2 separate regions of the Homo sapiens genome follow, and region 2 is linked to region 1. The links are contacts of gene promoters, found by promoter capture Hi-C in human tissues and cell types (Jung and others, 2019). All regions are on one chromosome and are shown on one strand. Each heading gives the region's core, a stretch centred on a gene start or on the middle of the fragment in contact. The rest is flanking DNA. Distances are from core to core; before and after follow the strand shown.

Region 1 (5,874 bases), core at 815-3,314:
CAGGAGCCATAGGTAGCCCAAGGGAATCCACACCAGAACAGTTTGCTCAAAACAAAGTGGCAGGTCTGCCTCCGGACTGTCCAGGAATGAGGAATTCTGGAGACCAAAGGGGAAGGATTGTTGCATACATGCATTGTGAAGACAGAAAACCACCCTGCAGCACATCCCACTGCTTTCACACAATTTAAATTCAACTCCATATCCATATCCAGCCTTACCCTTTAACTATCCGTATTTTCCTATTTGTGCACATGGATACAAATTCACCATTTAATGACAAATGTAGTCACTTTCTGGCCAACCCACCCTCCAAAAACGTGTCTTCTTGTGATTCTAAGTGAATTTTGTACCAGCTATTCTGAGTAAACCTCACCACTGCATTTGCCAAATTATAGGATGAAGAAGGACTGTTCCCCAGTTTAAAGGACAGAATAGTTCCCTGGGATATAAAAAATTATTCAAGTTTCTAGCACTAACTGAACTCACTGGCAGATATTCAAACATGCAGGCGCCATGCAGGGAGAATGCTTAGTCATACTGTAACATTTGCTCTCTGATGGCCCAAAGCGCTTACATTAAAAACCTGGCCAGTTTCAGCACAGCAGTGACAACAGCATTGTTGGACAGAAGGCTTCCAACCAGCAAGTTTTGTGCAGTCTTTGCATTCTGCGATAAATGGAAGTGTCTTGTGAAGTGGAAGTTGGGGGGTGGGGGGTGGGCACCAATTCTTGTATCTGAGTCACATGAGTGTGGATTTTTCTTTTCCTATAAATAGTTAAAAATTGTTTTATATGATTATTTATACAGACTCTTTAAAGAATTGCTTGCGATGCCCTGACCAAGAAAGTTTGTCAGGTAGTTCTCAGAAAGAATTCTCAAGAGATGGCCTGTCTAGATACTATAGCCCATGAAGATCCACCTTGCCGTGGTATACACTCCTGGCCTCGAGGGTCTTGGGACCCAGGTCCTTTCTAAGACACGAGGTGCTGCCCAGGTGCTCTGCTATCTCATCCCTGCCCCTCTCACCTCTATATAAGGTTATCAAATGTTAGAATTCAGAAGAATCACTTAAGATACTTAAACTACATTTATTGCCCCAGGTGATTCTGATGCTGAGGCTAGGAGTTTGCAGATGATACTTTCTCACCAAACCCTTACTAAAATCACTAAATCTAAGGTCCTTTTTTGTTTTCTATTCCACTAGACCTTTGATACTGTTGATTGGCCCCTATCTTGAAATTTTTTGCTATCTATGACTCCGTAATGTTACACTGTTCTTGTTCACCCTCTAAGTGGTGTCTCTTCTTTTCCTTAAAAACAATATTACCCAACTCTAGTTGTTCAAAAATTATTTCAATGCTCATGATGCCCAAAGTTGCATCCCTAGACTCAACTTCTAGTCCATATCATTAGTTGCCAGTTCTAGAACTTATCATTATCATTTCAACATCAACATGTCTCAGCAAGACTCAGTCACGGATCTTCTCTTCCTTCTACTAGCAAAGTATGCAACAACAATTCTCCTTCCTCACACGGATTAAATTGGAAGGTTTTTACCTGTTTCTCTTTAGAGAAGGCAATTTTGCGACTAGCTAGTACAAGAGTCTGATATAAAAAAACATATGACAGAGAATAATTTGCATTACATTTCCCAGATCTTATATCCTCTGGAGATATTATGAATTATGCTTTCTAAAAAGCCTGAGCTTTAGACCAATTGCACATCTAACATTTCTGGTTCTTGTTGGTGACCACCCTAAGTTAACTAACTACCACTTGTTCTGAGTCTGAGAAGAGTCAATATGAAGATAAATGTAATTTCTCACCCAAAAAGTAGAGTTGCAGAACTTCTCCAGCATGATTCCTGGACTGCGTCTGGAACGAAGACTCTTCTATTAATATGATTGTGTTGTTTCTTCTTTACTTGTTTCATCAAAGAAAGTGGAACAGGAATTATCTACCATTCTGATGTTCTCCGTAAAGGATGACCTTTCATCCCAACCATTTAATCGTTAACCTTGCCTAGATGCATGTTACATTGAAACAGTGGATGGACATGTGACTAAAAAGCCCTAGGGACAGGGAGACTCACCAGTTCCCAAAGTACAAGAGGCCTCTGTAGGAGTGGCCATACATAAAAGGAACCACTGAAAGATGTCAACAGAGCTGGCCAACAAATCAAGAGTGCACAGTCTTTCATTTTCCTAAGGACATATGACCCACAAAGGGCAGCATCAGTAGAGGGGCAGGCACCCCTAAATGTGCAGTTTCGCTTCTGCTGCAAGATCTTAGAGTTTATAGAAATGTGAAATATCCTTCTTCCTTAGATTTTTAATTAAAAATATAGAATCTAAAACATGGTTTAAACATGATGTAAACTTTCTTTGAAGAAGTCAGGTTATAAAATAGCTTATCCAGTGTGAGCCTATATGTTATATACATAATACAGGCTTTCAAAAGTTCTATTTGCCTGAGAGGTAGTATGCCAAATGGGAATGAAGCCTTTGCCAGGCATTGTAAATATGATATCATGATAAAACATCAGGGCCAGAGGAGAGGGGTGATTCTGTAAACAGAGTGGTGGCATCAGTCGCTAGAAACTGTCATCGACCCAACCTTTTCTTTTTTTGTTATTGTTTTTTGTTTTTTGAGACAGGGTCTTGGTCTGTTGCCTGAGCTAGAGTGCAGTGTTGCCATCATGATTCATTGCAGCCTTGACCTCATGGGTTCAAGCGATCTTCCTGCCTCAGCTTCCTGAGTAGCTGGGACTACAGGCACATGCCAACAAGCCCAGCTAATTAAAAAAATGTTTTCTGTAGGGACGGGGTCTCACTATGTTGCCCAGGCTGGTCTCAAACTCCAGGCTTCAACAATCCTTCTGCCTTGGCCTCCCAAAGGGCTGGGATTGCAGGCATGAGCTACCGTGCCCCACCTGACCCAACCTTTTGTACTGTCACTTAAATTGCTTTAAGAACATGCTTTTTTCATGATATCATGAACCACCCATGCGGTATCCTAGCTAAAACATAACCACCCATGCAGTATCCTAGCTAAAAAAAATTGGCCTTAAATCTGGTCAAATTCTAGATCTAACTACCGGATTATAAGAAACACAGGAACATGCTAAAGGACTCCATTGGAATGCAATTGTCAAAATCCAGAATGTGGGAGATTCTATAGTGCAAATGATTCCATTTTTTAATAAATAAATTAAAAGAAGGAAAGGAGTCAAAGGAACTTACAAATTACAAGAGAATCAAGAGGCATATCAGCCAAATGTGAATTGTATGGACCTTGTTACTGATTTTAAAAGTCAAGTATACACATAAAAAAAATGAAAAGGCAGCATTCAGTGTGGGAGAAAATATTTGCAGACCATATAACTGATGAAGAGTTAATATCCACAATATACTATAAGGAACTCATACAACTCAATAGCAAACATACACTAACAAATTAAAAAGTGGGCAAAGGACTTGAACAGACACTTTTCCAAAGAAGACATATAAATGGCCAACAGGTATATGACAACTGAATCAACTTCACAAGTCATCTGGAAAACACAAATCAAAACCACAGTTAGATACCACCTCATACCTATTAGGATGGCTATTACAAAAAAAAAAAAAAAACAACAAGATAAGTGCTGGCAAGGGTGTGGAGAAAAGGGAACCCTAGTATACTGTTGATGGAAATGTAAATTGGTCTGACCATTATGAAAACATATGGCAGTTTCTCCATCATTTTCCATACCACTCACCAGAAGAGCCAGGAAAGGTCAGCTGTGGAACTAAGAGATCTCACTTGGGGCAGGGTGCACCTTTAGGCTGCATACTTCTCTTGGCACTGGTGGTAGGACTCGGAGTCCGGGGGAACTCTTGGTAAAACTTTGAGAAATATAAGGTCAAGGATTAACACCTAATTTTCTTTTTTTAATTTTTTTGTAGAGCCTCAAACTCCTGGGCTCAAGCGATCCATTCGCCTCGGCCTCCCAAACTGCTGGGATTACAGGCATGAGCCATCGTGTCTGGCCTAAACGTTCTAAGTAATCAAAAAAAGAGAGGGTGGAGAATCTAAATGTTCATCAAAACAAGTTGCTTAAAGTATAAAATATGTACTCATAGGGAATATTGAATGAGAAAAGCAAGTAAGGAGCCAGGAAGTCATGAATCTTTCCTAACAATAACTAAAAATCTGAACAAATAGAAAAATCAATAACTCTTCTTAGATCTGTAGAGAGATAAGGTTACAGGGCAAACTGAAGAGATAAACAAGAGAATATCAAAAATCACAATTTACTGGCGCAGAAATCTCAGCAGGGGCCGGGCGCGGTGGCTCACGCTTGTAATCCCAGCACTTTGGGAGGCCGAGGCGGGCGGATCACGAGGTCAGGAGATCGAGACCACAGTGAAACCCTGTCTCTACTAAAAATACAAAAAATTGGCCGGGCGTGGTGCCGGGCGCCTGTAGTCCCAGCTACTCGGAGATGCTGAGGCAGGAGAATGGCGTGAACCCGGGAAGCGGAGCTTGCAGTGACTTGAGATCACGCCACTGCACTCCAGCCTGGGCAACAGAGACACTGTCTCAAAAAAAAAAAAAAAAAAAAAAAGAAAAAAGAAAAGAAATCTCAGCAGGAACCAGGGCTAGGGCAGGAAAACCTGAACTGTAATTGAATTGCCGGAGGCCCAGTGTAGATAAGTTTGAGAGAGAAAAATTCCAGAGTGACTCAGCCATAAGGAGGGGATGATCTCCACACTTTCATGAGTTTACCCATAGGAATTCAAAGAGGTTCTCAAATATTGTTCTCTTTTTATTAGAGAAAAATCTCCTCCTGCTTCCATGTCCCTGGCAGAGGGGATAGGAAAAGTAACCATTTGAAATATACCTGGACACTCTATTCTTCTCTTCTAAACAAAGTCTGCCCTTGGGAAAAACTGTTTAAATAGAGCCTAATGCTCTTGATTTATAGGAGCCTAAATGATGCCGGAGAAGGGAAATAAGAACTCCAGTCTCTTCTAGCCTTCCACATGAAAACTGAAAATACCCAGCTGCAGCCCACTCTAGCCATCACGTCCCACCTAACAGGGATCGGGGCAGATAGGAACTGAGAAGCACTTGTGAAATTCAGTCTAGAGACACAGGTTTACTAAAAGACTGAGACCTCTTCACAGAACTATAGAACTCTTCCTCTCCCCCTCCCCCACTGTATACCACACTACTAAAGGTCTAGTTACAGCACTTCCTTTTACTCCGTATATCCTGTCCAGCTATGAAGAAAACATTGCCAGGCATACTAAAAGGCAAAAAAAAAAAAAGAAAAAAAAAAGGCTTTAAAGAGACAGAGAGCAAGCCTCAGAACCAAACTCAGATATGACTGGGATGTTGGAATTATCAGACCAGAAATTTAAAACAACTATGATCACAATGCCAAGGGCTCTAATGGATAAAGTAGACAGCATACAAGAACAAATGGGTCGATGTAAGCAGAGAGTTTAAATTCTAAGAAAGAACTAAAAAGAAATAAATACTAGAGATCAAAAACACTGTAATAGAAATAAAGAATGCCTTTGATGGGCTTTTTGGTAGACTGAACAAGGCTGAAAACAGAATATTTGAACTTGAAAATAACTGCCAAAACTGCAAAAATAAGTAAGACTATATAAACAGAATCTCCAAGAACTATGGGACAACTACAAAGGGTATAACATATGTGTAATGGAAATAGCAGGAAGAGAATAACCAGAGAAAGGAACAGAATAAATATTTGAAGCAATAATGAAAGAGAATTTCCCTCATACTAATTTCAGACACCAAATCACAGATCACAGAAGTTGAGAGAACACCAAGTAGAACAAATGCCAAACAAACAAACAA
Region 2 (5,741 bases), core at 2,997-5,496, 380 kb before region 1:
TTTGAGCTTTGTTATTTTTAACACATTACCATATGGTTGTGATAATTCAACTTTTTATTTTAAAATCTGGCAAGAGACATCATCTTTTAAAAAATAATGGCCTTTGCTGTTTCTGCCAGCTTAATCTTCCAGATGAGTTTTCATTATCGATATTTTCAAGCTATATCAGGCACCTAAGTGGTCATATACATGTTGTTTTGTTTTGTTTTGTTTTGAGACAGGGTCTCCCTCTGTTGCCCAGGCTGGAGTGCAGTGGCATGATCATAGGTCACTGCAGCCTTGAACTCCTGGGCTCAAGTGATTCTCCTGCCTTAGCCTCCCAAGTAGCTAGGAGTACAGGTACACACCCCCACATCTGGCTAATTTTTTTATTTTTTGTAGAGATGGGCCTTTGCCGTGTTGCCCAGGCTGGTCTCAAACTCCTGGCCTCATGCAATCCTCCAATATAAGTTAAAAATAGAAACATAGTTTATGGCTTTACTTTATCATATCAGCCTTTTTGGTTTTTAGAATTTCTGATTTAGGGGAGAAACTCATATCCTAAGTTAAATTAATACCAATGGATTTAATGAATTTTAATGCTGTTCAATATGTAGTCTTTTTTTTTTTTAATCATTGAGGAATGTGATTGATTCTTGGTAGATTTATCTTATATCTACAACTTGAATTCACTGCCTTCTAGTAATTTTTGGGTTACTATTTTTACAGTCACTATTATATTTTTTTCCTTTCCATATATTTATATACCATTTTTCTTCTTGAAAAACTACTCTGGCAAATTAGAATGATGAAAATGGTCATCTTTGATTTTTTTTTTCCTATGTTATTTAAGGGAGTGACTATATTATAGACTGGCTTTTGATATATAATATATGCTTAAAACCCAGGGGTCAGTTTCAATACATATATTCCTTTCATTAGCCATTTTTTTCCTCCATTCACTCTATGTATGTGAGTGGGATGGGGGCATTATTTTATTATTTGAGGTTAAGAGCAGAGGTTTAATAGGCAAAAGAAACAGAAAGGAGAATAGCTCTCTCTCCTGTGAGGGAGAGGGGTGCCTGAGTGGGACTTCCCACTTTTACTTTTAAAATCTCTTTTGATGCAACTTACTCATGGTATCTGTACAGTAAGTGTTTATGTTTTCACATATTTGAAAATCTGTGAGATTTCCCAAGATTGGCAAGCACAATGTAGTATGTTCTTCAGCCTCATTCAGCAAAATAGGAGTCTTCAAAAGACAGTCCTGGCCGAGTGTGGTGGCTCACGCCTGTAATCCCAGCACTTTGGGAGGCCGAGGTGGTTGGATCACCTGAGTTCAGGAGTTCGAGACCAGCTTGACCAACACAGTGAAACCCTGTCTCTACTAAAAAACAATACAAAAATTAGTCGGGCTTGGTGGCGCATGCCTGTAATCCCAGCAACTAAGGAGGCTGAGGCAGAAGAATCGCTTGAACCTGGGAGGCGGAGGTTGCAGTGAACTGAGATTGCACCACCGCACTCCAGCCTGGGTAACAAGAGCAAAACTCCATCTCAAAAAAAAAAAAAAAAGTCCTACTTTACGCTTCTTTTAATAAGGCTAAAAAGATATGTGGCCAGTCTCTTAATTAAATGCAGTATGACAGTGCTTCCTTGAATCATATTAATCCATATTGGAAGTAATCTTATGTCTGCTAGTCACATGGTGAAATCTGACATCTCACAAAATCTGGTCCTGAATTTTTATTTGTCTTCTGCATGTCTCCACTGAGTTGTGAGGCCTCACATGTGTCACTGCCAGTGTGTTGTGAGTTTTTTCCACACAGCCTTCAGCTGCTTATTCCATTCCACTGTAATCCTTATATTTAGTTATGATTGTCCTCAAAATTACCTACAAATTTGACTCATCTATTTCATATAGGAAATGCTATATCGCTTAAAAGTTTTAAAAGCCTTTAAAGAAGACTAAGTGCTTAAAGGCTTTGTTATTCTTAAAAGGTTAGCCAGTTTTCAGAAGGAAAACTTCTTCAGACCAGCAAAGTGTTTTTTGTGTGTGTTTGCAGTATAGGTGGGGCGGCGGGGTATCGTATGTTTAGTAAAATCAAAAGCTTTTGAGAGATCAAGTCCTTGATGTAGAAAAGTCAGCCTTCAAAAAACAGTACTGTCCAGGTAGATAATCTTAATTGTGTCAAAGAACACTATGATTAGGGAAACAAAGTGTCTGGTAAACAGCCTCTACAAAGACAGACTTTGTTCTAAGTGAGAGTTAAGGAAGAAAGAATATAAGCTTTTAATTGATATTTGTTTTCCTTCAGCCAGTGGGCTGTTTACTTACAGCAAATACCAAGTGATTGCAGGGGTTGGAAGTGATAGATTAATTTACTCACTACTCACTGTATTAAATTGTATACACCAACCTGGGTTTTTTTGTTTGTTTTTGTATTTGACTAATTGTTTCTGACTTTACAATTTCAGTCTTGGAACTTTGCCTTCCCGGCTTCTTTGGTTTACAGGGTTGAAAAAGAAAGCAAAAGTATCTAACGACCTTTGTAAAACATCTTTTAAGTGAGAACCTTTTTCATAAGGCAGTTGTTTCCTCAGTGGGTAGATGGTTTTTCCTGTAATCTGGCATTGTGTAAGGAAATAAGAAGCAGCTTGTCTTTGATTCTTGGTGTGATGGCATGAAAAGTAAATGTTCTGGTGGGATCCCCAAACGTGTTAGTAGGCCGCTATATTATAGCTGTTGTTTATTAGATTAGTATCATTTGAGGGGCTTTTCTGTAGAAGATTTAATTTGAAGATTTATCTTTCAAATATACTTTGGCTTTTTCACTTTTATTTTTTAGGCTGTGCGTGTTACAAAACCCAAAATCCCAGAAGCCATAAGAAGAAATTTTGAGTTAATGTGAGTAATATGCATGGGATCCCAATATTTCTGTTTAGGGCTGTCTGCATATTAATATTCCAGTCTAGAGGAAACATGTGAGACAATACACTCTGGGGTGGAGTATGTGTCTTATCTTCTTTACTCTTACTCTAGTAATATTGCCTATTCTTGTGTCTTAATTCCCACTAGACTCTTACTAGTGTTCTCTTTATGTATGGACATTTCAGGAGCAGTTTCAGTGGCTAAAGATGCAGTTTGCTGTAAAACTATTGCTGGAAGCTTAAGGAGCTATAATTTTATATGAATAGTACCTTGAATTAAATATTTAATAGAGGAAAGAGTCCTGAAGCCGTTAGGGTTGAAGAGAGTGCTCATATTTTGTTTCTGTGTTGTAATGGTAGGAATAGATACCTTGTTGGTATAAAGTTTGGTTTTCCATTGTATGTGATTGTATATCTAAAATTAGACCTGGTTCTTTATAATGTGCCTCTAGGGAAGCCTTGCTTCTGTTGACTCCTGGTAGTCTTCTCTTTTATGTATCCAGGGCTGACTGGGAATGAGAAGACATGAAATTAGTTTCTGACAGGATCCCTTTTAGGGGAATACTTACTGTGTTTGAAATGGCAATATTGTTTTCGTATGACTGGTACTGAAAAGAAGAAATAAAAGTCTTTAGGAAATTTGGCTGATGTGTTAAAAGGGAAAGTATAAGACGCTGGAAAAATAAATTTGCACAAGTCAAGGATACCACAGATGTATAAATACTGGAAGTCCAAGGAGCAGTAATACTACTTTATGAGGTTGTTTACTTCTGAGTCCTTTTTGTTACCATGCAGATTTTTATTGTTTTTTTCTTCTTTTATATTTTCCTTTTCCCTCATACCTTCTCTGAGCTCATACAGAGTTTTATTTCTCTTTTTCTTAATTTTTTTTTTTTTGAGACAAGGTCTTGCTCTGTTGCCCAGACTGCAGTGCAGTGGCACAATCACGGCTCACTGCAGTCTCAACCTCCCAGGCTCAAGTGATTAAGCGATCCTCCCACCTCAGCCTCCTGAGTAGTTGGGACTACCAGTGCATGCCACCACACCTAGCTAAATTTTGTATTTTTCATAGAGACGGAGTTTTGCCCTGTTGCCCAGCCTGGTCTCAAACTCCTGGGCTCAAGCAGTCCTCCTGCCTTGGCCTCCCAAAGTACTGGGATTACAGGCTTGAGTCACCACACCCAGCCTGTTTTCTCTTTTTCATTGTAGACAAAGAACTCTTCTTTTAAAAGTATAAAATGTAGACTGCCAGGCTGGGTAGATTATGGATGTGATCCACTTATTGAAAAAATATTTATAGGCGGGCTGTGGTGGCTTATGCCTATAATCATAGCACTTCAGGAGGCTGAGGCCGGCGGATCACCTGAGTTCAAGAGTTTGAGACCAGCCTGGCCAACATGGTGAAACCCTGTCTCCAGTAAAAATAGAAAAATTAGCTGGACATGGTGGCAGGCACCTATAATCCCAGCTACTGGGGAGGCTGAGGTAGGAGAGTCGCTTCAACCGGGGAGGTAGAGGTTGCAGTGAGCCGAGACCACGCCATTGCACTCCAACCTGGGCAAAAGAACGAAACTCTGTCTCAAAAAGAAAATTTTATTAAACTGTCAGCATGTCTTAGGCTTTAAATATGATTGCTTAGGCTGGGTGCGGTGGCTCATGCCTGTAATCCCAGCACTTTTGGGAGGCCAAGGTGGGCGGATCACGAGGTCAGGAGATCGAGACCATCCTAGCTAACACAATGAAACCCCGTCTCTACTAAAAATACAAAAAATTAGCCAGGCATGGTGGTGGGCGCCTGTAGTCCCAGCTACTCGGGAGGCTGAGGCAGGAGAATGGCGTGAACTCAGGAGGCGAAGCTTGCAGTGAGTCGAGATAGTGCCACTGCACTCCAGCCTGGGTGACAGAGTGAGACTCCATCTCAAAAAAAAAAAAAAAAAAAGATTGCTTCTGGTGACGGAAAAATGAATATTGTGTGTTTTCTGCTCTCAAATAAATCATAGTATTCAGACTGTCATTTGATGTCTTTATCAATGTTATCAGAGGAAAGGGGAAACTTTGAGGGGAAGTGTTTTGGGGAAACTATTGGAGTTACTTTTCAGATGATTCTGGATCTTTCTTAATTTTATGGACTATTGGAATTCCAGAATTAAAAGCTACCTTGGGATGATCCAGTATAACCTTGCACCTGATAGTAGTGTTTTCTTATACCATTTCTGCCACGTGGTTACCCAGTAGCTACTTGTACATGCTTAGTAATATGCCAGCCATTTCCATTACAGGTTTAGTACCCCTTATCCGAAATGCTTGGGACCAGAAGTATTTTAAATTTTGGATTTGTAAAGATTCTGGAATATTTGCATAGACATAATGAGATATCTCAGGGATGGGACCCAGGTCTAAATATAAAATTTATTTATGTTCTTCCTTGTTGGTATAGTGGTTAGTTTTTTTTTTTTAAGGTATTTTATTTATGTCCCATATACACCTATAGCCTGAAGGTAACTTTATAAAATATTTTAAATAATTTTGTGCATGAAACAAAGTTTACCTTAAGTGCTTATGTGTGGAATTTTCCACTTGTGTCATAATGTGGGCTCTCAAAAAGTTTCAGATTTTGGAGCATTTTGGATTTCAAATTTTCAGATCAGAAATGCTCAACCTGTATTAGACACTGGAAGCCTTAGAAAATTCTCCTTACTGTAAGCCCCAGTTTACTACCTAATAACTACCACCTAGTTATATCTTCTGTGCAACAAATATGGTCACTGCACATGGGTGCCCACCTGAGGAGGGCAGGGGCTGAAACCCAGCTTCATTCTGCATGTCAAACCATG

Evidence for each region. Contacts are between HindIII fragments. The study calls those that stand out against the background at their distance.
Region 2: a contact is called between a fragment that was not itself captured here and the fragment with the promoter of ABCC2 in region 1, in 1 of the 25 tissues and cell types used here (mesendoderm cells).

The regions. Positions count from the first base shown.
Region 1 is chr10:99,778,830-99,784,703 of GRCh38, reverse strand. ABCC2 (ATP binding cassette subfamily C member 2) reads right to left here and starts at 2,064. Exons shown (of 32, transcript NM_000392.5): 1 at 1,827-2,064; 2 at 1-96. The coding sequence starts at 1,859. RefSeq lists enhancers at 1-336, 205-866. The HindIII fragment of the contact is 27,927 bases long and covers 1-5,874 here.
Region 2 is chr10:100,164,491-100,170,231 of GRCh38, reverse strand. ERLIN1 (ER lipid raft associated 1) reads left to right here. Exons shown (of 11, transcript NM_006459.4): 7 at 2,826-2,884. Among named protein-coding and RNA genes, the nearest start is that of ERLIN1, 19 kb to the left of the region's middle. The HindIII fragment of the contact is 3,080 bases long and covers 2,707-5,741 here.